Regions from separate parts of the Homo sapiens genome. Here regions 1, 2, 3, 4, 5 and 7 are each linked to region 6. Evidence: promoter capture Hi-C in 16 types of primary human blood cells and fetal thymus (Javierre and others, 2016). All regions are on one chromosome and are shown on one strand. The core of a region is centred on a gene start or on the middle of the fragment in contact, and the rest is flanking DNA. Distances in the headings are between cores, read along the strand shown. Region 1 overlaps ICE1 (interactor of little elongation complex ELL subunit 1). Region 2 overlaps ADCY2 (adenylate cyclase 2). Region 3 holds the start of ADAMTS16 (ADAM metallopeptidase with thrombospondin type 1 motif 16). Region 4 overlaps ICE1 (interactor of little elongation complex ELL subunit 1). Region 5 overlaps CFAP90 (cilia and flagella associated protein 90). Region 6 holds the start of NSUN2 (NOP2/Sun RNA methyltransferase 2). Region 7 overlaps MTRR (5-methyltetrahydrofolate-homocysteine methyltransferase reductase).

Region 1 (2,879 bases), core at 376-2,875, 1.2 Mb before region 6:
TTATCATCTGTATTTATTTGTTTGCTATATTATCTATATACTTACTACCTTAGCATAACCATTTTCCTGGCTACACTGGCCATGTCTTCTGTCATGTCCTCTCAGCTGGTATGCCTGCTAGCTTGCTCCTTGCCCTGTGTGCTCAGCCAGGTGTGATTCTACTTCCCCAAGAAAGGAAGGAAGCATGGGCATCAGCATTCACAGTGACAATTCAGGAGGGTATTGTATGGATAAAGTTAAAATTGTCTGGTAGAGGGGAGAAGTAAATGGGAAACAAAAAGTCTTGAGTAAGAGAGTGGGCTGCTCTGGGAATTGTGTTAGTGAATTAGTATAGCTTAAGAAATCACCCAGAAGGCAAAGAAAAGATGGTAGTTATGAGAGAAAAGAGGAGAGAATTGAAAATAAGCCTGAACTTTCCAATAGACTATATAATAGAAGCTCTAGAAGAGGAGAGCAGGGCTGCTAAGAGAAAGCGATAATCGAGGAAACAACCCTTAGTATCTCCTGGAGAGGAAGAACACCTTGAACCTCACTTCTTCCATAGCAGCTGGACCTGTGCAGGAATGAATGTGGGTCAGAGGAGCCTGATCGCCCTTCACCCAGGCACACCCTGCTCACTTTCACAATTGCGAGGTTCATTATTTAGAGGCCTTGGTTTCAGCCAACATAAATGACATCTGAATCTGATTGGAGGAAAAAAAAATGTTTTATCAGAGTATTACAATATCTGACCACAGATAATACAGTATCTGACCAGATTTGAGCTGATATGCAGCAGGGCCTTGGGAAATAATGTTAGTCAGAGACTAGAATGCTATCGGATAACTGAGAAATCTTTTGTTTTCTCATTATACTGTTTTGTGATCTTGTTTTTTGTTTAATCACAGTTAAATATAAAAAGGCAGCTAGACAGATATACAAGAGTTGTTAAGACAACAAGTCAGCAGCCCCCAGCCCCACTCATCCCTGCTTTCCAAGACAGAACCATTTTTAATTGCTTCCACTGTGTATTTTACAATGAATTTTCCTGTTGTTAAATAGTAGACTCATTGCTGACTTTGGGAGGTGAGGATTCAGCTCTCTTACTGCCCCATACTCCACCATGCCTAAGCATATCTCTTCTTTCTCCATTTGTTCAGTATAGTTATGATTTCAGTTAGATCAGTATTTGAAGTTGACATTATTAGGACTGTTATTTGAAGCTAAGCTGTGGTGTTTTCTGCATGGTTTCTTGTTTTCCCTGATAATGATTGTATCTTTAATTCAATTTTTCATCCTGAAGATATTAGTGAGTGCTTACTGCTATGCCAGGGACTGGATTGAACACTTTATATGGTGCATCTTATTTAATCCTGATAGTATGCCAGTTATTTAAACTCTTTTTGCTTCAGTTTCTCCATCTGTAAAACTGATGAAATAGTTTCGAGGCAGGGGAGAGGTTAAATAAATTTGCCCAAGGTCACTTAGCAGAAAGTGGGGGTGGAATAGGAATGTGAATCTGACTCTGTGACTCTGGAGCCTGAGGTTTCTTCGGGGTCTCTGCCTAAGTACTTGGCAACTCAAAATGACATCTAGAAGCATGGGAAAGATGAGCTAGGGTACCAAAGAACTCAAAAGAGAATGGGAGAAAAAAGAGGAAGAATCACTTTTATTTTAGAAAAAATAATAGTTTAAATGCATGTCCAAAAATAACTGCATTCCCTTGCAAGTCTCTGCCAGTTTGGTATAAATACTCGAATGTTTTCAGTCTTTCATTTTCTTCTCCCTTCGAGCTTTGGGGCCTACTGTCATCTGGTACGCAGCAGCATTCTGAGGGCTCTCTTCACCCCCATCTCCATTCCGAAGGACCATGTTCACATCTTTCAGTACCCCCTGAGAAAGAATGTCTGGGAAGTAAGTTTGTAGAGACTTTGCAGATTTGAAAATATTTATTGTGTAGAATTTTATCTTGGAATTACTTGCCCTTTGCCATTTCGAAGGCTTGCTTTCTAGGTCTAGTTTTTCGTGTTGGTGTTGAAGTCTGAAGCCATTCTATCCCCGATTCTTTGTGTATCACTTGATGCCTTTTATTTTGCTCTTGGGATTCTGGTAGGGTCTTTGCTTTGTCTCCAGTGGTCTGAAATTTTGTGTTCTTGTTTCATGGTTTGAATCCTATTGAAGTCCATATTCCAGGCCCTTTCAATTAGAAATTTCTAGATTTGCTTCTGGGAACTTTTCTTGAATACCAGTATTTTTTTTTTAATTAGGTCTCCATCTTCGCCTTATTCTTTATGTGGAACTCTTATTGTTGGGTATGTGGGGCCTCTTGTGTTGATACCCTATTTGTTTTTATTTATTTTCCTTCTTTCTCGTGTCTGGGTTTTTATTTTCTGCATCCTTTTTTTTTAACTTTATGGTCAAATATTTTGAGTCTTTGTTAGCTATAACAGCATTATTGAAATATAATTTACATATAAAATTCTGCCTTTTATTGTATACAATTCAGTTCAATTCACAGAGTTGTGCAGACATCACCACTACATAGTCCTAAAACATTTTCATCCTCCACCTTCCCCAAAGAAACCCTATACTAGTTACTAGTCATTTCCTGTCTCTGTACTCTTCCTCCAGTCTCTGGCAGCCACTGGATTACTTTTGGCTCTGTTAAGGAAAATTCATATGAATGGACTCTAGAATACACGTGGACTTTTGTAACTGGCTTTTTTCACTTAGCATAATGTTTCAAGGTTGGTCCATGTTGTAGCATGTATCATTCGTTCATTTTCATTGTCAAATAATTCCTGTTGTATGGATATGTGACATTTTGTGAATCAGTTCATCCTTTGATGGACATTTAATTTATGTTCACTTTTTGGCTAGTTTGAAATAGTGCTGCTATA
Region 2 (2,964 bases), core at 181-2,680, 1.2 Mb after region 6:
CCAGCATTTGAGAATGTCTCTATAAAATGCTCAGCTTCAGGTCAGCATCCAGCTGAGTAACTGGACGGTTGTCATTGCTTCACAGCTTCTTTCCAAGCCAAAATTCAGTGGAGTTGAAAAGATTAAGACCATTGGCAGCACATACATGGCAGCAACAGGTCTGAGCGCTGTGCCCAGCCAGGAGCACTCCCAGGTAAGACGCGTTGGCCACTTAACGGCACAGGTGAGCCTCAACCCCATCCACAAACCACCCTGGGACCAAAACAGCCATGAAATGCCCCAAGAACTGTATATTTTGTACAACCTAAAGCTCAGGGTCAAGGTCCTATGAGAGAAGATGAAAATTCCAGACTTCTTAGAGCCAGAGGATCTGTTCACAGAACTCCTTCTGCTGGCCAACAGGAGAAGAAAAACCAATCAGTAGCTGCTTGTTACCAGATAAATACACAATGAAGTAGAAGATGAAAGCTAGTTATTTGAAGGAGACTCAGTAAGAATGGATCCAGGTCTTTTGATTTAAAAGAATATAGTCAAGGCCGTGTGCGGTGGCTCACGTCTGTAATCCCAGCACTTTGGGAGGCCGAGGTGGGTGGATCTCTTGAGCTCAGGAGTTTGAGACCAACCTGGGCAACATAGTGAAACCCCGTCTTTACCAAAAATACAAAAAAAAAAAATAGCCAGGTGTGGTAGCATGCACTTGTGGTCCCTGTTACTCAAGAGGCTGAGATGGGAGGATGGTTGAGCCTGGGAGGTGGAGGTTGCAGTGAACTGAGATCGCACCACTGCACTCCAGCCCGTGTGACAGAGTGACACCGCATCTAAAAAATGAATTAAAATAAAATAATGTGGTCAAAAAACAAGTTGGCCACATGGAAATTTCATTGAAAAGGTCATTTGGGCAAAATTGAATATCTTCAATCAACTAAGGTTTTCGAGATTTTCTCGTGTGTGTGTGTGTGAGAGAGAGAGAGAGAGAGACAGCATGTATGTAGACATGCTTGTGTAACTTGTTGGAATATTAGTAAAAAAGACCTCCTTTCCCCTCAGGACAGTGGCCTTTGCTGTGGAGCCTGCCCTCTGCTGGGCAGACCACAGAGAAACTGCACTTACCAGAACACACTTTCTGTGGACAGGCAGGTTCTCAAAGAGAAGAAGGGTTGAGTACCATGTATGAGCCCCTCTCCCATAACCACCTCCCATGGGAAGAGTGAGAGTGGGGAGAGAGGCAGCAGGCACCATAACAGAGCTCCCTCTTCCAGGAATATCATGAGAGGGTCCTAGTTTCCCGCTTAACATTCATGCATTCATGGGCAAAGAGTAGAACATGGATAGACGTCTGACTCAAGATGGAACCCTAGCATTCTTCCAGTTAATTGGAGTGATATGTATTCCATTGGTTCTCCTCTTCAGGTGGTTGCCTTCAGATTATTATTTTTTAATGAGTATGCATTACTTCAGTAATAAAGAAAATAAAAGAAACAAGCCATAAAAGAAACCCCAGAAGAACCTTGCCTTTGAATTCTGAGCAACACCCTCTCAAGCCATCATGGAGTCTGTGGCCAAAGGAAAACTGCTGTATCCTCTGCATGGTGTTGTAGATTTTTAATGGTTAGGGTTTTTTCCAGAACATTAAAGTGTTAAAAAAATTGAAAAAATGTAAAATCGAGATATTAAAATGTACAACATTCTTTTAATTTTAAATATTCTATTTATAACCCAAACCAGAACTAATTACAATTTTAGTTTCCTGGCTTTCATGGAAACAAATATATGCTCCTCCAATGCCTTTAATGTTCTGGAAAACATTGACCATTAAAAAAAAAATAACATTAAGACATGTATAGAGACAGGCATTTTTCTTACTGCCTCAGGCTCTAAGATGCTCAGCACAACACTGTCAGGACCTATGTGTCTTAGTCTGCTTGGCCTGCCAGGCAGAATACCACAGGCTGGGTGGCTTAAATGACAGAAATTTATTTCTCACAGTTCTGAAGGCTGGGAAATTCAGGACTGAGGTGCTGGCTGATTAGGTGTCTGCTGAGGGCTCCTCTTCTGTCTTGCACACAGCAGCCTTCTCACTTCTCTTAGGCCTCCCATGGAGGGGAGAGAGAGAGAGAGACAGAGACAGAGAGAGAGCTGGTTTCTCTTCCACTTTAAAGAGGGCACCAGTTCCGTTGGATCGGAGCTCCACCCTTATCATCTTAGTTGACCATAATTACCTCCTAACAAAGCTCTGTCTTCAGTACAGTCACCTGGGAGGTTAGCACTTCAACATATAAATTTTAGGGAGGACACAATCCTGTCCACAGCAGTATCTTTATTTAAAATTTCATTATTTTAGTTCATCTTGAATTTTTCTGCATTGATTTTGATTTTTAAAAATATTGCACTAGCATATTATTTCTCATGATTGCTGAGCTTCTTTCTCCTTCTGAAGTTTCTCTCCTGAGGTGAGTGCCTCACTTACCTCACCCTCATCCAGTTATGACTTGGAGGCTTCTCCAGCTCATCTAATGAGGGCCATCAGGAGCACTTCACCTGATCACATCCACTCCAGCCCTTTGCTCTTGGACAGCCAACTAACAATACTTTGGCAGGGCCTCGGAGTGGGAGATCTTCCGAGGCACCACCACATGAAGACCTGTTCCACAATCAGTGTCACTCTACAGCCCAGGGTGCGTGTCTGCCTGTTCTTCCTGACCCTAACTCTGCCTCCATCAGACCCAGTCTTCTGGATGTTCAAGAAAAGTCTCCAGGTCTTTTCTCTTCCTTTCCGCAGCCACGCTTTATAGACTGAGAGTCCATAGCCACTGCCTTTATCTTTCACCTTCTACTTTCTCTCTACACCTCCACAATCCTGCCTCACCAATGCCATCAGGAACTCTACTCTTAATGACCAAAAAAACACTTCCAGATTCCAAAATTCCAGTCCAATCACATTCTCTGAGCATTCGTCCTAGGTGA
Region 3 (2,700 bases), core at 70-2,569, 1.5 Mb before region 6:
ACTCACCGTGAAGATCTGCAGCTTCACTCCTGAGCCCAGCGAGACCACGAGCCCACCGGGAAGAACGAACAACTCCAGAGGCTCTGCCTTAAGAGCTGTAACACTCACCGCCTAGGTCTGCAGCTTCAATCCTGAGCCAGCGAGACCACGAACCCACCAGAAGGAAGAAACTCCGAACACATCTGAACATCAGAAGTAACAAACTCCAGACGCACCACCTTAAGAGCTGTACCCACTCACCGCGAGGGTATGCGGCTTCATTCTTGAAGTCAGTGAGACCAAGAACCCACCAATTCCAGACACACTATGGGCTCACAGCGTGTACTCGCGCACACGCAGTCAGGTGTGGATGTACACCCGCGCACACCCAGGCACATGTACACCCGCGCGCTCACACACCCCATCCAGCTACAGCAGAATTCTGGCCAGGCTGTTGACCGCACACCTGCTGCCTCCTTGGCCACCCTGTCCACACAGTAGCCCGATCGACCCCCGTGGCGGCCGAGACCCAGGCCCATCCGCAGCCCTGAGACCTCCCTAGGGATTGCACCCAGCAGCCAGTCACCGGCCTCCGCGGCCTGGCCAGTTGAGGGTGGCCGTGACCGCGGGGCCAGGAGCGCCGCCACATCTCGGGGCAAATGGCGCGGGGGAAGAGTTTCCTCCTCAGCCTCCCCGTCTCCGATCGCTCCGCAAACTCCAGAGCGAGGCACGCGCCTTTAAAGGCAGGTCCGCGGCTCTCCCACGTCCTGGCGCCCGGTTTTCCGCACCCAGTGTCCCCACAGCTGTGCCCGGGCACAGAGGCGCGGCCAGACCGCACTCCGCGGGCTGCAGGTGTCCCGGCCTCTGGCGGCGCCGGTGCGGCCCGGAGGTGGGAGCCCGCGGAGCCACTGCAGTAGCTGGAGTCCCGCCGAGTCCCCAGCCCCAAGGCAGGGCAGGAGCGCGCACCGGCCGGAGGTCCATGCTGAGCATCGCCCGCGCCGGTGCCCGGCAGCCTCTCCAACTGTGTGGTCCCCGCGCGGGCAGAGAGGCACGGACTGCAGGCCGTGGGCAGCTCCATCTTCCCGCGTCCTCCTCCTCTGGCGCTGCCCGCTGTCTCCCGCCTTCCCTCTGCTCCCCGCTCGCCTCCGCCTCAGCGCCCCGCTGACCTCGCCTCCTCCCCTCTGCTCTTTGTCCCTGCACTCTCCCCTCCTCGGTCCTCTGACCCCCCCGCCCTCACCTCCTCCCCTCCTCTCTCCCCTGCCCGCCCCGCGCTCTCCCACCGCTCCCGCCGCCCCCGCCGCCGCGGCTGCCACTCCGCCCCCCGCGCCGCACGGAGCTTCAGTAATAACCCCGGCGCGGCGGCGGAGTCGCTGTGGGGAATCCTCCCGCGCTCTGCCTGGGTCGGGTCCTCCCTGCCCGCTCGCACGCTGCCGGCCGGGGACCCTCCGGTGGCCCCTAGCCCCTCGGAGCGCTCCTGGATGAAGCCCCGCGCGCGCGGATGGCGGGGCTTGGCGGCGCTGTGGATGCTGTTGGCGCAGGTGGCCGAGCAGGTGAGTCCCGGGCGCTCCCACCAGCGCGGAAACCGCGGGTCCGGACAGCTGGAGGCGAGTCCCCCGCGGCTCCTCTCCCGCGGACCCCGCCGTCTCACCGCGATGTCGCCGCTGTTTTCCGCAGGCACCTGCGTGCGCCATGGGACCCGCAGCGGCAGCGCCTGGGAGCCCGAGCGTCCCGCGTCCTCCTCCACCCGCGGAGCGGCCGGGCTGGATGGAAAAGGGCGGTAAGTCCGTGAGGTGGGGGCTTCTAATCCTTGCCATTTAGCAGCTCGTAATCTCCGTGCCGCTGGTTTATTAGGTGCTGTGAATGTTCACGACTCTGTGGAACCCTACTTTTAAGATGCTGTTGTGAACTTTTTTTTTTTTTAACTGTATGAGCGAGCCCCGATGAGTGGATTTCCACCAATATTTACATTTTATTCCCTGGCAAAACGGTTTGCCAGAGTTATTGATATAACATTAGGAAAAAGGTGAGGAAGTTCATTTTATTTTATTCTAAAGAGCTTAGGAAGAATCTAAAGCTATTAATGTATGCATCAAAGCCGTCATAAAGAGCAAATTACTTTCTTTTCCGTCCCCTTCTACATCCTCGGATCCTCCTTCCCGTCCCCAACCTTTCCTCCTTCTCCTCCTTTATAGATTAAAATATTCCTCTATCGTTGCTTATTCTCAGTGAAGGAGATAAAAGAAGCGCTTAGCATCTCAATACCAAAGTTAATGCTCCAACAATCAGGGCGTACTTCAAACATAATAGTGCCTGAAATGGCTAATCAGCTGATTGTGACACCATCAGCAACGTTCATATCCTGGGCCACAATTTGACATGAGGGCAAGTCTTATTCTTTTTCAATGCATGCTTTTACTTCTGCCACTTACAAGTGACATTTGGAAATTTGCTGTCTTATGGAAAGGGATCTCTGTGTCTTCATACTGCATCAGGTAAATGAGAACGCAGGTGTGTCGCACTGGTTGCTAGGTGGTTTTTTAACCTGAACCCATCCAATGACAGTTAATAAATATTATTTTGCATTGTTACCAACAATAAATTGCCGTATCAAATGTTAATATTAATTGACTTTTATAGGAAGAACTAGGTTTCATTCTCTCAATGTATTTCCAGAAGATCTAGAAAATTAAAGTTAACAATTCAGAATTTCTCAGTATAGTT
Region 4 (2,928 bases), core at 199-2,698, 1.2 Mb before region 6:
GAGGGATGGATAAAAATATTCCAAGCAATGCTGACATTAAAGCAGTCATGTAAGGTAAAAAATAATAAAAGCTTAGAAATGAATTTACATTATTGAAATGTTGATTAAAAGTATAGTTTGCCATGAAGATACTGCTAGTATGTACCTAAGAGTGTGAAACGATGTCAAGCAATACTCTTGGAAATCTAGGGGGACTGGCCAAATCTATTTTCGTCGTGAGAGACTTCACAATGTTTTTTAGAAAGAGAGAGCAAAAGCAGACAAGGGATGGAATTGGAATCACAGTTCCAAATGGATAATTTATATACAACTGTTTGTAAACCACACACCTGGAGTTTGTTAAAATACTTTTCAAATGTATAAAAGTTGACTAGTAAGTGAACAATAAAAAATACCTACAATTTAATATGAGCTTTTAATAAAAATCCCCCTCCCTCTGCAAAAACAAAACCTGCAAAACTTACCTAATAACTAAACTCACATAAGACACACAAAAAACCTCTCTTTGGTAACAGAGAAAATAAGAATTGAAATACTAAACTGTTTTGAAAGTAAACAGTAGGGCAATATTTATTAAAATCTTTAAGATATAGCCAATTCCTTCACTATTCAAAGGAATATGTTAAGGCCTTACGTGATACATTGTCACTTTAGAAATAAATACGGAGAATGAAGTGTTTAACTGAAAGAAAAAATTGATGAAAATGCAAACTTAATGAAATAGGAAACAAAGCAATTGATTTAGGACAATTAAATCTGATAGCTGGTTCTTTGTAATGCTAGTGAAACCAACAACTCTTTGGTAAACTTTGATTAAACAAACAAACAGAAGGAAAAACAGCACCAGGATTGAGAAACAGGTAAAACTACAGTCAAGAAATTTCATAATTCACAAGTTCATATTCAGATGTGAAAATGTAAGTAGAATGGTCCATTTTCAAGGAAAACATGCTCAAATTGACTCAGAACAATTGCTACAAACCTGAACAAAAAATAGGAAGAAATTTTTAACAATAGTTAAAGATCTAACACCATAATAAATCCGGATAATTTATAGGTGAGCTTTGTAAACGTTCAGTGAAAAACTAGTGTCTCTGTTATTAATTTTTTTGTTTCAGAACTTAGAAAATAAGGAATGTTTCCATTTTATTCTCTTAGGCTAGCATAATGCTGTACCAAAATCAAATAGCATGCACACATGTTCTCAAGATTCAGGACTCTTGTGTTGTTAATATAGCTGCAAAAATACCAAATAAAATTTTAAGAAATTAAATCCACAAATTTAGAGTACAGACAAATTATGCTTGAAGATTTATCTCAGGAATACTACAGCTGGGTCAGAGAATGTTGTGATCATCTCAATTCAGCACGTAGTCCCAATTTCAAAAAATTGATGAGGTAATGGAAAAAAAATTTTAACTTGAGAAAGGTGAAACATTCAAAGTATAGTTATTACTGTCAAAAACAAGGCAAGCATGCTTTTTGTTTGTTCCATTTTTTTTTTTTTTTTTTTTTGTACTGGAGGCCTGAACCAGTGCAACAGAATAAATGCAGAAGAGTAGGATCTGTGAATACTAATAAAGAAAAGTTGAAATTGTCATTATTTCAGATGATACTACTAATGTAGAGAATTTAAAAGACTCAGAGTTGGAATTAGAAGTAATAGAGCTTGGTAAAGTGCTGGCATATACAATGAACATATACATTGTACCGTTATTAACCTGTTAGAAAAGGAATGGAATAAGAACAACCCATTCTCAAGTGGCACCTGAACCAGCAGATGTCTAAGAAAAGACCTGAAAGCAGTATACAGTGTTTCTGAGGAAAACTGAAACATTCCTTAAAAGCGTTAAGGAAGACCTGAGTACATAAACATGTTCCTGGATGAGAAGATTCAAAGCATAAAGATGTAAAATTTCCCCAAATGTATTTATAAATATACAGAAATATTCAAAGTCCCATAGATGTTTTCTATGGAAGAGCACAAGCAGATGGTTTATAGGGAAAAGTGTATGTTCAGAATAATACAATTTTTCAACAGGAGAAAACTGAATAATGATTACGCTCTAACAGATATTCAGTAACCTACCCTGATTAAAGAAGTGTGGTATGGATACAGAAAATGACAAAGCAATGAAGTAGAAAATAAATTAAATAAATAAATATGTAAGTCCTTAAATATTCATACATGCCTTAGAGTTTGATAAAGGCAGAATTTTAAAGGATCAGGGAAAGTTGTGCAATTCACTTGAAGGAGGTGTTGTCTTCACAACTAAGTGTGAAGTTAACGCTGAAGATGTTTTTCTGCTTTGTTGGGAATAGAGTGCTTTTATTTATTTATTTTTTGGGTCAGATTAGCAGTAATGAATGCTCAGTTACAAAGGCATAGCTCTGGATGATAGCCTCCATAAGAATGGAAAAGTAACTTTTTTTCTTTTTTTTTAAGGTTCCTTGTTTGCTGCTTTGGGTATACGTAATAAGCAGGGATCCTGGTCAGGTCATTTAAGCAAAGGGGATTACAGTATTTGGAAGCAGGCTTTTGGGTAGGTTATATCACAATGTAGATAAGCTACTCGATCACAGAATTTTGGAACTGAAAAATGGATATGGCTCACACACAGTGGCAATCAGAAGGTTGTTTTGGCTCAGGAGAGTTGGCAGTGTCCAGCCTTTCACACTTACCCGTGAACTGTCCTCCACAGTTGTCCTGCCCCTTTCTGTGGACTTCATTTTTTGAAGTGATGCAGTCTGCCAGCTTAAGTAGAGCTAATCTCTTACAAAATCTGTGATTCCCTGAGACATTTGGGTTTTTAAAGTTTGGTCTTTTAAGCTTCTCTTGAACTGGAGTAAAGATTTCACTAATATCAGTAAATGCTTAAGGTTAATTAAAAAACTTAAGTTCAAGGAAACTCTAATAAAACTTTTTAG
Region 5 (2,885 bases), core at 11-2,510, 1.2 Mb after region 6:
AATGAGAAAAAAATAAGCCTCTATGATGTCATGGTTATTATGTTAAGCCCGTTGGTGCACCTATGTTTAACAACCCACTTTCTGGAGAGAAAAAAATCTGATTTGTAGTATTTGATGATTTCTGTGGTGTAAATACTTCGGTCATGGTCAATTTTAGGCTACCAGTTAAATGCAGAGCTTAGAAGAAATGCTAACAGTTGGCTTTTGTGAGTCATACAAGCCAGCTCCAGCACACCGGCGGTTAAGACTTTTTGGGTTTAGGGTGTGTTTCCATAGCACATCCTAGCCCACCTTGTCTAATATGCTAATCAACCTATGAGTGGGCTACCTCATTTCCTGTCCTCAGAAGCCACAGCACTATGACCTCCTCATCTTGAGGCTTTCCGTGAGTTTGCTTGTCCAGGGATAAACAACCTAATTTTAAAACTGAAAACCCCCAAGGTGATCCAAAACAGTTTCCTTTGATTCATCAGGGCCTCAATTTACTTCTAATAAATCCAGAGCATCTCCTTGGAGGTTTGGTATTGTGTGAAGCTTAATGAGGACATTTTTATTCATTTTAACAGCATTCAAAATTCTGTATCTCAGAGGACTGTTGCTTGCGAAGGACACAATGTTAGGTTTTTTTGAAAAGACAATACTCAACTATTCTCTTTGGGTTTTTGATTTTTCCTGTGGAAAAGATTCTATGTCCTCTCCTGGTACATTAATATCACAAGTTTTAGAAATTCTTATAAATTTTCAAATAATCTGGATATTTTACCATCAGACTGAAGTCAAGATAATTCCTCCCTCTGATCTTGTGTCTGTGTCAAATTCTAAGAGTGTTCTGATTCAGAGAGTTCTACATTCATCTATGTGCTCAACTTGTCACCAGTTGGAAACTTGGTGATTGTGGAGTCAATTGTTTTTCCTCTTCCACTGATACCAGCTCCCTACTCACCCCTCACCCCCAGCCCAGCAATTCACAACTCAGGAAGAAACAGCGATCCACAGGGGCTGAAACTCGAATTCAATCTTATATGTTCCTCTTGGTCAAAGTTATTGGGAAAAATGTTGTCTCTTTTCTTGTGTCATTTGCTTGTACCCCTTAAAACGGGGTGATTTTGAAAAACTAAGATATGTTATTAAATGAAAAGGGCAAGCTGCAATATATGTGTCCATATTTGTGTGATCTGTGTGTGAATATGTTCTTGTATAAAAAACATTAGATACGTATCTCGACAAACATGCACTCAATGAAAAGACACAGAGCACATGCTCACACAGGAGTTTTGATTCATTGGAACATGGATTCCTCACTCTCGGTGTTTCGTACCATGTGAAAGGTCTCCACTAGAACATGCCTGCCTCCCCTTTCACTCATTCCTCTCTCATAAATGGGTTTGCAAGGGAAACTGGGCCTTGGGCTCAGCCCCCCGACCAACCCCTTTTTAAGGAGCTACCTGCCCTGGAGGAAGATATTCAGCCCCATTCCCCCAAGCCCTGAGTTTTCCAGGGGCAGGTCACTGGAGAGTGAAAATGCAACTAGAGAAGTAGAGAAGAAACTATAGCCCACTGCCATTGACGATACCAGAGGAGGAGAACGAGGACAGGGATAAGCAAAGCAGCAGATAATCCAAACCGAAACCCCCAAGTTACTCTTAAGAAGCAAATTTTGTAAGTCGGTGACTTATCCCTTTGTTTTAAAAATTGGCTTTCCGATTATTCATTCCTCATTTGTTCATGCAACAGGTATTTATGGAGTTCCAACTATGAGACAGGCACTCTTTTGATTGCTGAAGACATAGCTGTGATAAAGGTAAATCATTGTCCTCACAAAGCTCACATTTAGTGGGAGAAAACAACAAGATAACTAAGGAAAATACTTAGCAGGTTAGATACTAATAGGCAAAAGGAGAAAAATAGGCAGGGAGAAGGAAAGAGGTATCCATGCAGAGAGGTCATAATTTCACTGGGCCAGTACAAATTCTTTTGGAAAGGCATGTAAGCTTATGAGTCTGCTGGATAATGGGGAGTTGCCTAGATAATGACAGGCAGATCAGCAACAGAACTGAGTTCACCTTCCCCACACAGCCCCCTTGGAGTGGCTGAGTGTGTGTGGTAAAGGTGCTTGGTTCCTAAGCAGACAGGACCCATAGAGGGAGGACCTGGGGAGGCTCATATTGAGCACTGTCTGCATACTGTCAGGTCCTTCAGAGATTCCCCTTTGTGCCTCTGGACAGTTAGCATGTGTATTAGTCCATTTTTGCACTGCTATAAAGAACTGCCTAGGACTGGGTAATTTATAAAGAAAAAAAGGTTTGATTGACTCACAGTTCCACATGGCTGGGGAGGCCTCAGGAAACTTACAATCATGGCAGAAAGCAAAGGGGAAGCAAAGACCTTCTTCACCTGCTGGCAGGAGAGACAGAGAGAGAGCAAAGAGGGAAGTGCCACTTTTAAACCATCAGATCTCCTGAGGACTCACTTACTATCATGAGAACAGCAAGGGGGAAACTGCCCCCATGATCCAATCACCTCCCACCAGGTCCCTGCATCAACATGTGGGGGTTACAATTGGAGATGAGATTTGGGTGGGGACTTATTGCTAAACCATATCAACATGCATCTGTATAGGTGCTTGGCTGCACTTGGCAAAGGGAAATTCAGTGCTCAGGGAGGTAGAGTCCTTGATGCATAAAGAAACAGTCAGCTTCTGTCCCCAACATACACAGAGAAGAAAAGCCAGCTAATCCCACCAAACCTAAGGTGGGGCCTTTACAGCAAAGCCTCACTCAAGACAGAGCTATCCACAAGCCCCCTCAGCATGAGGGAAAGCGGATTCTAAAACCAGTTATAATTGCTTTAAATGCAGCTCTTAGACTTTGAGGAATTTAATCAAA
Region 6 (2,700 bases), core at 20-2,519:
AGCTCTTTAACAGCAAATGCAGTACCAAGAAATATAATTCAAGTGATAGAGATTAATATCCCAAATAAATATTCGGCATGAAGCACTGTGGTACCTACCAACTCAGTGGCTGTGGAACTTCAACTTTCTGACCGTCCACCTCCAGGTCCTCCAATTCCTTAAAATATTTGTTCTTTAAGCAATGGAGAATCTCTTTTGCGTGGCTATTGAAAAATAAGGAAGTTTCAAACTGATCTAAAAAACTAAGTTAATACATTGTATCTTCTTAAATTTAAGACTGCAAGTGTTTTAAAACTAAAACCAACTTTTGCATGGAGAGTAAACATTCTTTAGTCACTACTTTTACACTGTATGCCTTCAAAATTTAAGCAATCCACACTGTTTGAGCCCTAAGAGCAACACTGCATTCCTTCTCTCCTAAGCATATCCTACCGTTAAGTTTTACTTGCGACTCATTTAGAAAGATGTAACTACAAAGATGGAGGGGGGGCGCGGAGGAGGGGAGAACCAAGGGGTTTTATGCATTCTCTATAAATTCTCTTACGTTCCAAAAGGTAAGACCCTCAGCTTCCCTCCTGGAAGATTCCCCAGGAGCCGAATCTTCCTCAGATCTCATTTTCATTTCGTCTTCTAACCTTGCGCCTGCAATACCTCCGTGACCATTTCATTGGACCCTGTGCTCCCCACCTCAATGCTTCCTGAATCCAAACCGCTGAAACGCCACGGTTCTCTGGCACTGTAACACTTGTCGAAGAAAACACCGTCGCCTTTAACCTCCAGCATCCTGGCCCCAACTCCCAAAAAATCAGGCACTGCCTCCCTACCTTTTGTAACCAGTAATTCTTAAAGTGGCCGGGAGCGGCTCCCTGAGAGCGTCCATGAACTGGCCCCACTCGCCCTCGGGCACGATCTTGAGCTCCTGGTAGTAGTGCTCGAACAGCTTGTTCTCCTTGACGATCTCGGGGTAGCCTCCTTCCCAGCCCTGAGGAAGGAAAGAGACGTCTACCCCGAGGCCCAAGGAGCCGCCCCCTCGCCGCCGCCTCGCAGGCCTCGGGGTCCGGGAAGCCCAGGAGGAGCCCCTGGCCCGCCCGCCGGGTCCCGGCTCCTACCGCCTCGCCGCGCTTTCCACCACCCTCGGCGCCATCCTCCGCGTCCTCCGGCCGCTGCTGTTGCTGGAGCCGCCGACCCCGCGACCGCCGCCCCATAGCCCACGCGGCCGCGCACGCAGCACGCAGAAACCGGCCCGCCACGGCCAGAACTCTAGCCCTACACCTCCCGGGACTTCCGGCCGGAAACCAAGGCCCCACGTGTCCGGGCCTGGTCCTTTCGGGGACCTTTGGGGACCGTCCAGGAATAAGCCCAAAGCGCACAACCCGTCTTTCAGAAAAGCGGCGTGACAGGGAAAACAGCGAACAGCTCTAAGGGGAAAAAAATGCTCCAGGAAGCAGCCACAAAGGCGTCTCCGCGCGAAGCGCCCAGGTTTCCCACGCGGGCTCAAGGAGCTCCGCGGACAGCCTGAAGCCGCGCGTGCGCAGAGCGGCGCGGGGTTACTGCGGCCCCGGCGTGGGTGGGGCGCTTGCAGGTCCCTCCCCGCGCAAGTGCTCGCCCCGCCCCCGGGGCCGCACCCACAGCCCCGGCTACCCCGGAGAAGCCTGACTTGAGAACCCTTTCTGCAGAGTCCCGGCAGTGCGGGACTCCGGTAGCCGCCCCTCCGGTAGCCGCCCCTCCTGCCCCCGCGCCGCCGCCCTATATGTTGCCCGCCGCGGCCTCTGGGGCATGGAGCACGCTGCCCAGCCCTGGCGATGGCAACGGCGACGGGGGTGGCGGAGGAGCGCCTGCTGGCCGCGCTCGCCTACCTGCAGTGCGCCGTGGGCTGCGCGGTCTTCGCGCGCAATCGTCAGACGAACTCAGTGTACGGCCGCCACGCGCTGCCCAGCCACAGGCTCCGAGTGCCGGCGCGGGCCGCCTGGGTGGTGCAGGAGCTGCCCTCGCTGGCCCTGCCGCTCTACCAGTACGCCAGCGAGTCCGCCCCGCGTCTCCGCAGCGCGCCCAACTGCATCCTCCTGGCCATGTTCCTCGTCCACTACGGGCATCGGTAACGTCCCCGGCCCCCGGCCCCCTACCCTACTCCCGGCCCGGCGTCCTCTCCGACCCTCCCCTCACTGCCCGGTGCCCTCTCCCCGAAGCCTCCCCCACCCAGATGCCCTCTCCCTGCCAGATCCCCCGGGGCGTCCCCCATCTGCACGGGTGCCCTTCCCCGAGTCCCCCGGCCCCGGGAGTTTGGAAACCAGAAGGGATTCGTCTGGAAAGGGCGGGAAACAAAGGACTGGAAGGGAGTGATGGAAAAAAACATGATGAAACTGATCTGGAAAGAGCCACTCAGTGGTCCTAGGTTTGGTTTCCTTAGCCGGGCGCGGTGGCGCCTGTCTGTGATCCCAGTTACTCGGGAGTCTGAGATGGAAGAATCGCTTGAACCCGAGAGGCGGAGGTTACAGTGAGCCGAGATCTCGCCACTGCCCTCCAGCCTGGGTGACAGAGCGAGACTCTGTCTCAAAATTAAATATATAAAAATAAAGAGTTAAAAAGTAAAAATGTAAAATAAAAATGAAGACTAGATTTTGTTCCCTTAGATCACGACTGTGGGGGCGGGGGGGAGGGGGTTGGCCTAGAGTCTAATGCTGATGGTCGGTCTTGAGGGCC
Region 7 (2,700 bases), core at 17-2,516, 1.3 Mb after region 6:
TCCTATTATGTTTACTTCTCATAGTATGTTTGTTTTTGCTCATTTATTATATAAAATAATTGCTTTTTCCATAATTAAGAGAAGTTATTTATTTTTCAAAATATAAATATATTATTTACTTAGAATCTTGAAGTAGTCCTAAATTGATTTTTTGAGAAGAATAATGCTAATGGAGTACTGCTGTCTTTTTAGCTTTCATTTCCTTAATTTTAAATAATTTTCCTTTCTTTTATTTGGCCTATCTTGAATTTATAGTCTTCTTATGTTTTTGTAAGGTGGAGTTTTTTACTGTATTCATTTTGGGGAATTTTTTTGGCTGAATAAACATTGCCACAAGTCATGTTGCACTTTGATGCGCTGTAAAGTACTACAGTAATTGTGTTTTGGGGAGTGTGTAAAACATTTTATTCTTCATCTTCTATGTCATGAACCCCTTTCCCGTCTTTACCTGAAAAGGAGCTACCTTACCCCAGCATATACCTGCGGGATGTTCTCTCCAGTTCATTTTTACCTGGTGTCTTGAAATCCGAGCAATTCCTAAAAAGGTATTTTTTTCTGTCTTCTTCAGGTAACTATTTTAAAATATGCTTAGCTTTATTTAGGATTGATTAAACAAATTTAGAATATGCCCTTTGCAGTCTTAAAAAATGTGATCTTGATAGCATGTTTTTAATATTAGTTCCCAAGGGTGTGTGCTATCATCGTAACTATCATCTATGAATCTTTTTATGTTGTATTTGCATTTAAATTTTTGTTTTCTATTGAAATGAGGGCTTAAATAGGGCTTTTTCTTAGTCTAAATAGGGCTTTTTCTTTGTCTTACTTTTACTAGTTATTAACTACGTAGCACATTCCACAGTGATGGAGGTGACTGCAGTTGACCTTGTGTTACCCAGCTACACATTGCTGCTCCTTCTTTAATTGGTGACAGAAAGCTAATGAGAGCGTAGGATTCCCCCCAACCACCACTTGCCACTTCCTACAGTTGTTAAGATCTACTTTGTGTAATACTACATAACTATTTATTGCTGTAACAGAAAGCTTCAGGAAAAATGGAAGGGTTTTGGTAGGTAATAATCAATTATTATGTGAACTTGGAGGTAGAATAATCCACTAGATGTCAGTATTGTACCAGGAACTGTTTTTTTAAAACTACTTGTAACTGATTTCTTCTAACCAGCTCCCGGAAGTGGCCATTAATGGATACAATTTTTCAAATGTGCCTTGCCACACTTGTATTGTCAGTGAGCATAAAGAGTGTTGTAATTAGGCCGCCATCTCCCCAGTGTGGTTTTCGTGTCGTTTTATTAATGTGTTTATTGCATTTCTAGTCTTGGGTGAGTAAAGTACTTTAGAGAGAGGCTCAGCTCTCTAAATAAATATATGTATATTTATATATATATAGATTTATATATATATATATTCCATCTTCCTTTCCTGGTAATCAGCTCGAGATGTAATTTGAGTATTTAGAATTAATTTACTGTAATGAAAGCTTACCGATTAAGTCACAATTTTGGTTCAGCTCTACCCTTTTAAAATTTGTGTAAAGTGTGTGTGTATGTCTGTATATGTGTATATATATGTGTGTGTATATATGTGTGTGTATGTATATATTTGTGTGTGTGTGTGTGCATATATATATATATATATATATATATATATATATATATGGGTTTTTTCAAAAATAGTATGCTCATTGGAAAAATTCTGGATACAGAAATAACCCAGGAAACCAAAGTATTTTATAATCAAACCCTCTGAGTTAACACTTGAATTTTGTTTTCCTGAGGAAAATATGGGTATCCATATTATATGTGCTGTTCCATAACTTGCCTTTTTAACTTAAATCAAGAATCTGTATATTTCAGGATGGAAAGAGTTTTAATGGATACTATGGATACACCATTATTTGTTGATGTAATTATGGGCAATTGAGTCATTTTTGCTTTTTCACTATTAAAAAAGGCAAACTTTCTTGTACTGTATTAATTTTTGAACACTTACTTGAAGTATATTTGTAAAACAAATTCCTTGGAGTAGAATTGCTGTTTTAAAAATATTTACATTTTAAATTGTAGTAATGTTTGTCAGGTTTGTCATCTTGTTCTCCAAAAACAGTGCAGTATTTCCTGTTGTAGTACCATAAAGTTTTTGTAGTTCTAAAGTGAAAAAAGTATGTTAAAGGAAAAATTGTCACTGTTTTAGCTTTTAATTTAGGAGATTGTATTGGCTTTAGAATTTACAAACTGTTATTGGTAGATGTTTTTATTATCTTGCCAAAGTCTTTGCAGAGATTTGGGGCGTCCATTCAGCAGTGTTTCCTGAGTCGTTGTTTTTGGTCAATGCTGAGTTTGGCACTTGGAGGAACACGTGTAATTTGTTAGTGTCCAGGTATTTTAGACAGAGATTCTTCAGCCAAACCTTTGGAAACCTGTGACTCCTTTGGGAACAGTGATTTTGTCCTCCCTGTTAAGGAAGTCCAGGACACAATCATCTTGAGCCATGGAATTTAAAGTAGCAGTACCCATTAGCATTTCACATAACATTTGATGCAGATAATTACTGAAGTGCTTTGTTCCTAAAGAGCCCTTGAGAAATAAGCTATGTCTGCCTGTAATTAATAACTTGTAATTGCATTGAAATAAAAAATTCTTACTAGCAAGTTTGATGTTTTGTTCAGGAATTTAGACTTTGAGA

The links. The method cuts DNA at HindIII sites, captures the fragments that hold promoters and counts their contacts. A CHiCAGO score of 5 or more calls a contact.
Region 1: a contact is called between a fragment that was not itself captured here and the fragment with the promoter of NSUN2 in region 6, in 4 of 17 cell types (total CD4 T cells, total B cells, naive CD8 T cells and 1 more). The highest score is 11.0, in total CD4 T cells.
Region 2: a fragment that was not itself captured here is called in contact with the fragment with the promoter of NSUN2 in region 6 in 1 of 17 cell types (monocytes); the score reaches 7.8 in monocytes.
Region 3: the fragment with the promoter of ADAMTS16 here is called in contact with the fragment with the promoter of NSUN2 in region 6 in 1 of 17 cell types (total CD8 T cells); the score reaches 5.1 in total CD8 T cells.
Region 4: a fragment that was not itself captured here is called in contact with the fragment with the promoter of NSUN2 in region 6 in 1 of 17 cell types (naive CD8 T cells); the score reaches 5.7 in naive CD8 T cells.
Region 5: a contact is called between a fragment that was not itself captured here and the fragment with the promoter of NSUN2 in region 6, in 1 of 17 cell types (non-activated CD4 T cells). The highest score is 5.2, in non-activated CD4 T cells.
Region 7: a contact is called between a fragment that was not itself captured here and the fragment with the promoter of NSUN2 in region 6, in 1 of 17 cell types (non-activated CD4 T cells). The highest score is 6.8, in non-activated CD4 T cells.

The regions. Positions count from the first base shown.
Region 1 is chr5:5,429,607-5,432,485 of GRCh38, forward strand. The region is part of intron 1 of ICE1 (interactor of little elongation complex ELL subunit 1); the gene reads left to right. Among named protein-coding and RNA genes, the nearest start is that of ICE1, 8.4 kb to the left of the region's middle. The HindIII fragment of the contact is 4,322 bases long and covers 1-2,879 here.
Region 2 is chr5:7,804,500-7,807,463 of GRCh38, forward strand. ADCY2 (adenylate cyclase 2) reads left to right here. Exons shown (of 25, transcript NM_020546.3): 22 at 86-193. Among named protein-coding and RNA genes, the nearest start is that of CFAP90, 45 kb to the right of the region's middle. The HindIII fragment of the contact is 7,785 bases long and covers 1-2,964 here.
Region 3 is chr5:5,139,011-5,141,710 of GRCh38, forward strand. It overlaps ADAMTS16 (ADAM metallopeptidase with thrombospondin type 1 motif 16), which reads left to right and starts at 1,320. Exons shown (of 23, transcript NM_139056.4): 1 at 1,320-1,529; 2 at 1,654-1,756. The coding sequence starts at 1,458. It overlaps ADAMTS16-DT (ADAMTS16 divergent transcript), which reads right to left and starts at 1,044. Exons shown (of 4, transcript NR_109915.1): 1 at 946-1,044. RefSeq lists an enhancer at 526-1,092. The HindIII fragment of the contact is 3,896 bases long and covers 1-2,700 here.
Region 4 is chr5:5,450,670-5,453,597 of GRCh38, forward strand. All of the region lies in intron 10 of ICE1 (interactor of little elongation complex ELL subunit 1), which reads left to right. Among named protein-coding and RNA genes, the nearest start is that of ICE1, 29 kb to the left of the region's middle. The HindIII fragment of the contact is 2,759 bases long and covers 70-2,828 here.
Region 5 is chr5:7,842,704-7,845,588 of GRCh38, forward strand. All of the region lies in intron 1 of CFAP90 (cilia and flagella associated protein 90), which reads right to left. Among named protein-coding and RNA genes, the nearest start is that of CFAP90, 7.0 kb to the right of the region's middle. The HindIII fragment of the contact is 1,457 bases long and covers 533-1,989 here.
Region 6 is chr5:6,631,775-6,634,474 of GRCh38, forward strand. NSUN2 (NOP2/Sun RNA methyltransferase 2) reads right to left here and starts at 1,270. Exons shown (of 19, transcript NM_017755.6): 1 at 1,110-1,270; 2 at 825-982; 3 at 99-203. The coding sequence starts at 1,205. SRD5A1 (steroid 5 alpha-reductase 1) reads left to right here and starts at 1,666. Exons shown (of 5, transcript NM_001047.4): 1 at 1,666-2,095. The coding sequence starts at 1,803. RefSeq lists enhancers at 1,366-1,877, 1,878-2,389 and a silencer at 1,513-1,902. The HindIII fragment of the contact is 4,632 bases long and covers 1-2,700 here.
Region 7 is chr5:7,886,159-7,888,858 of GRCh38, forward strand. It overlaps MTRR (5-methyltetrahydrofolate-homocysteine methyltransferase reductase), which reads left to right. Exons shown (of 15, transcript NM_002454.3): 8 at 457-545. Among named protein-coding and RNA genes, the nearest start is that of MTRR, 18 kb to the left of the region's middle. The HindIII fragment of the contact is 454 bases long and covers 1,040-1,493 here.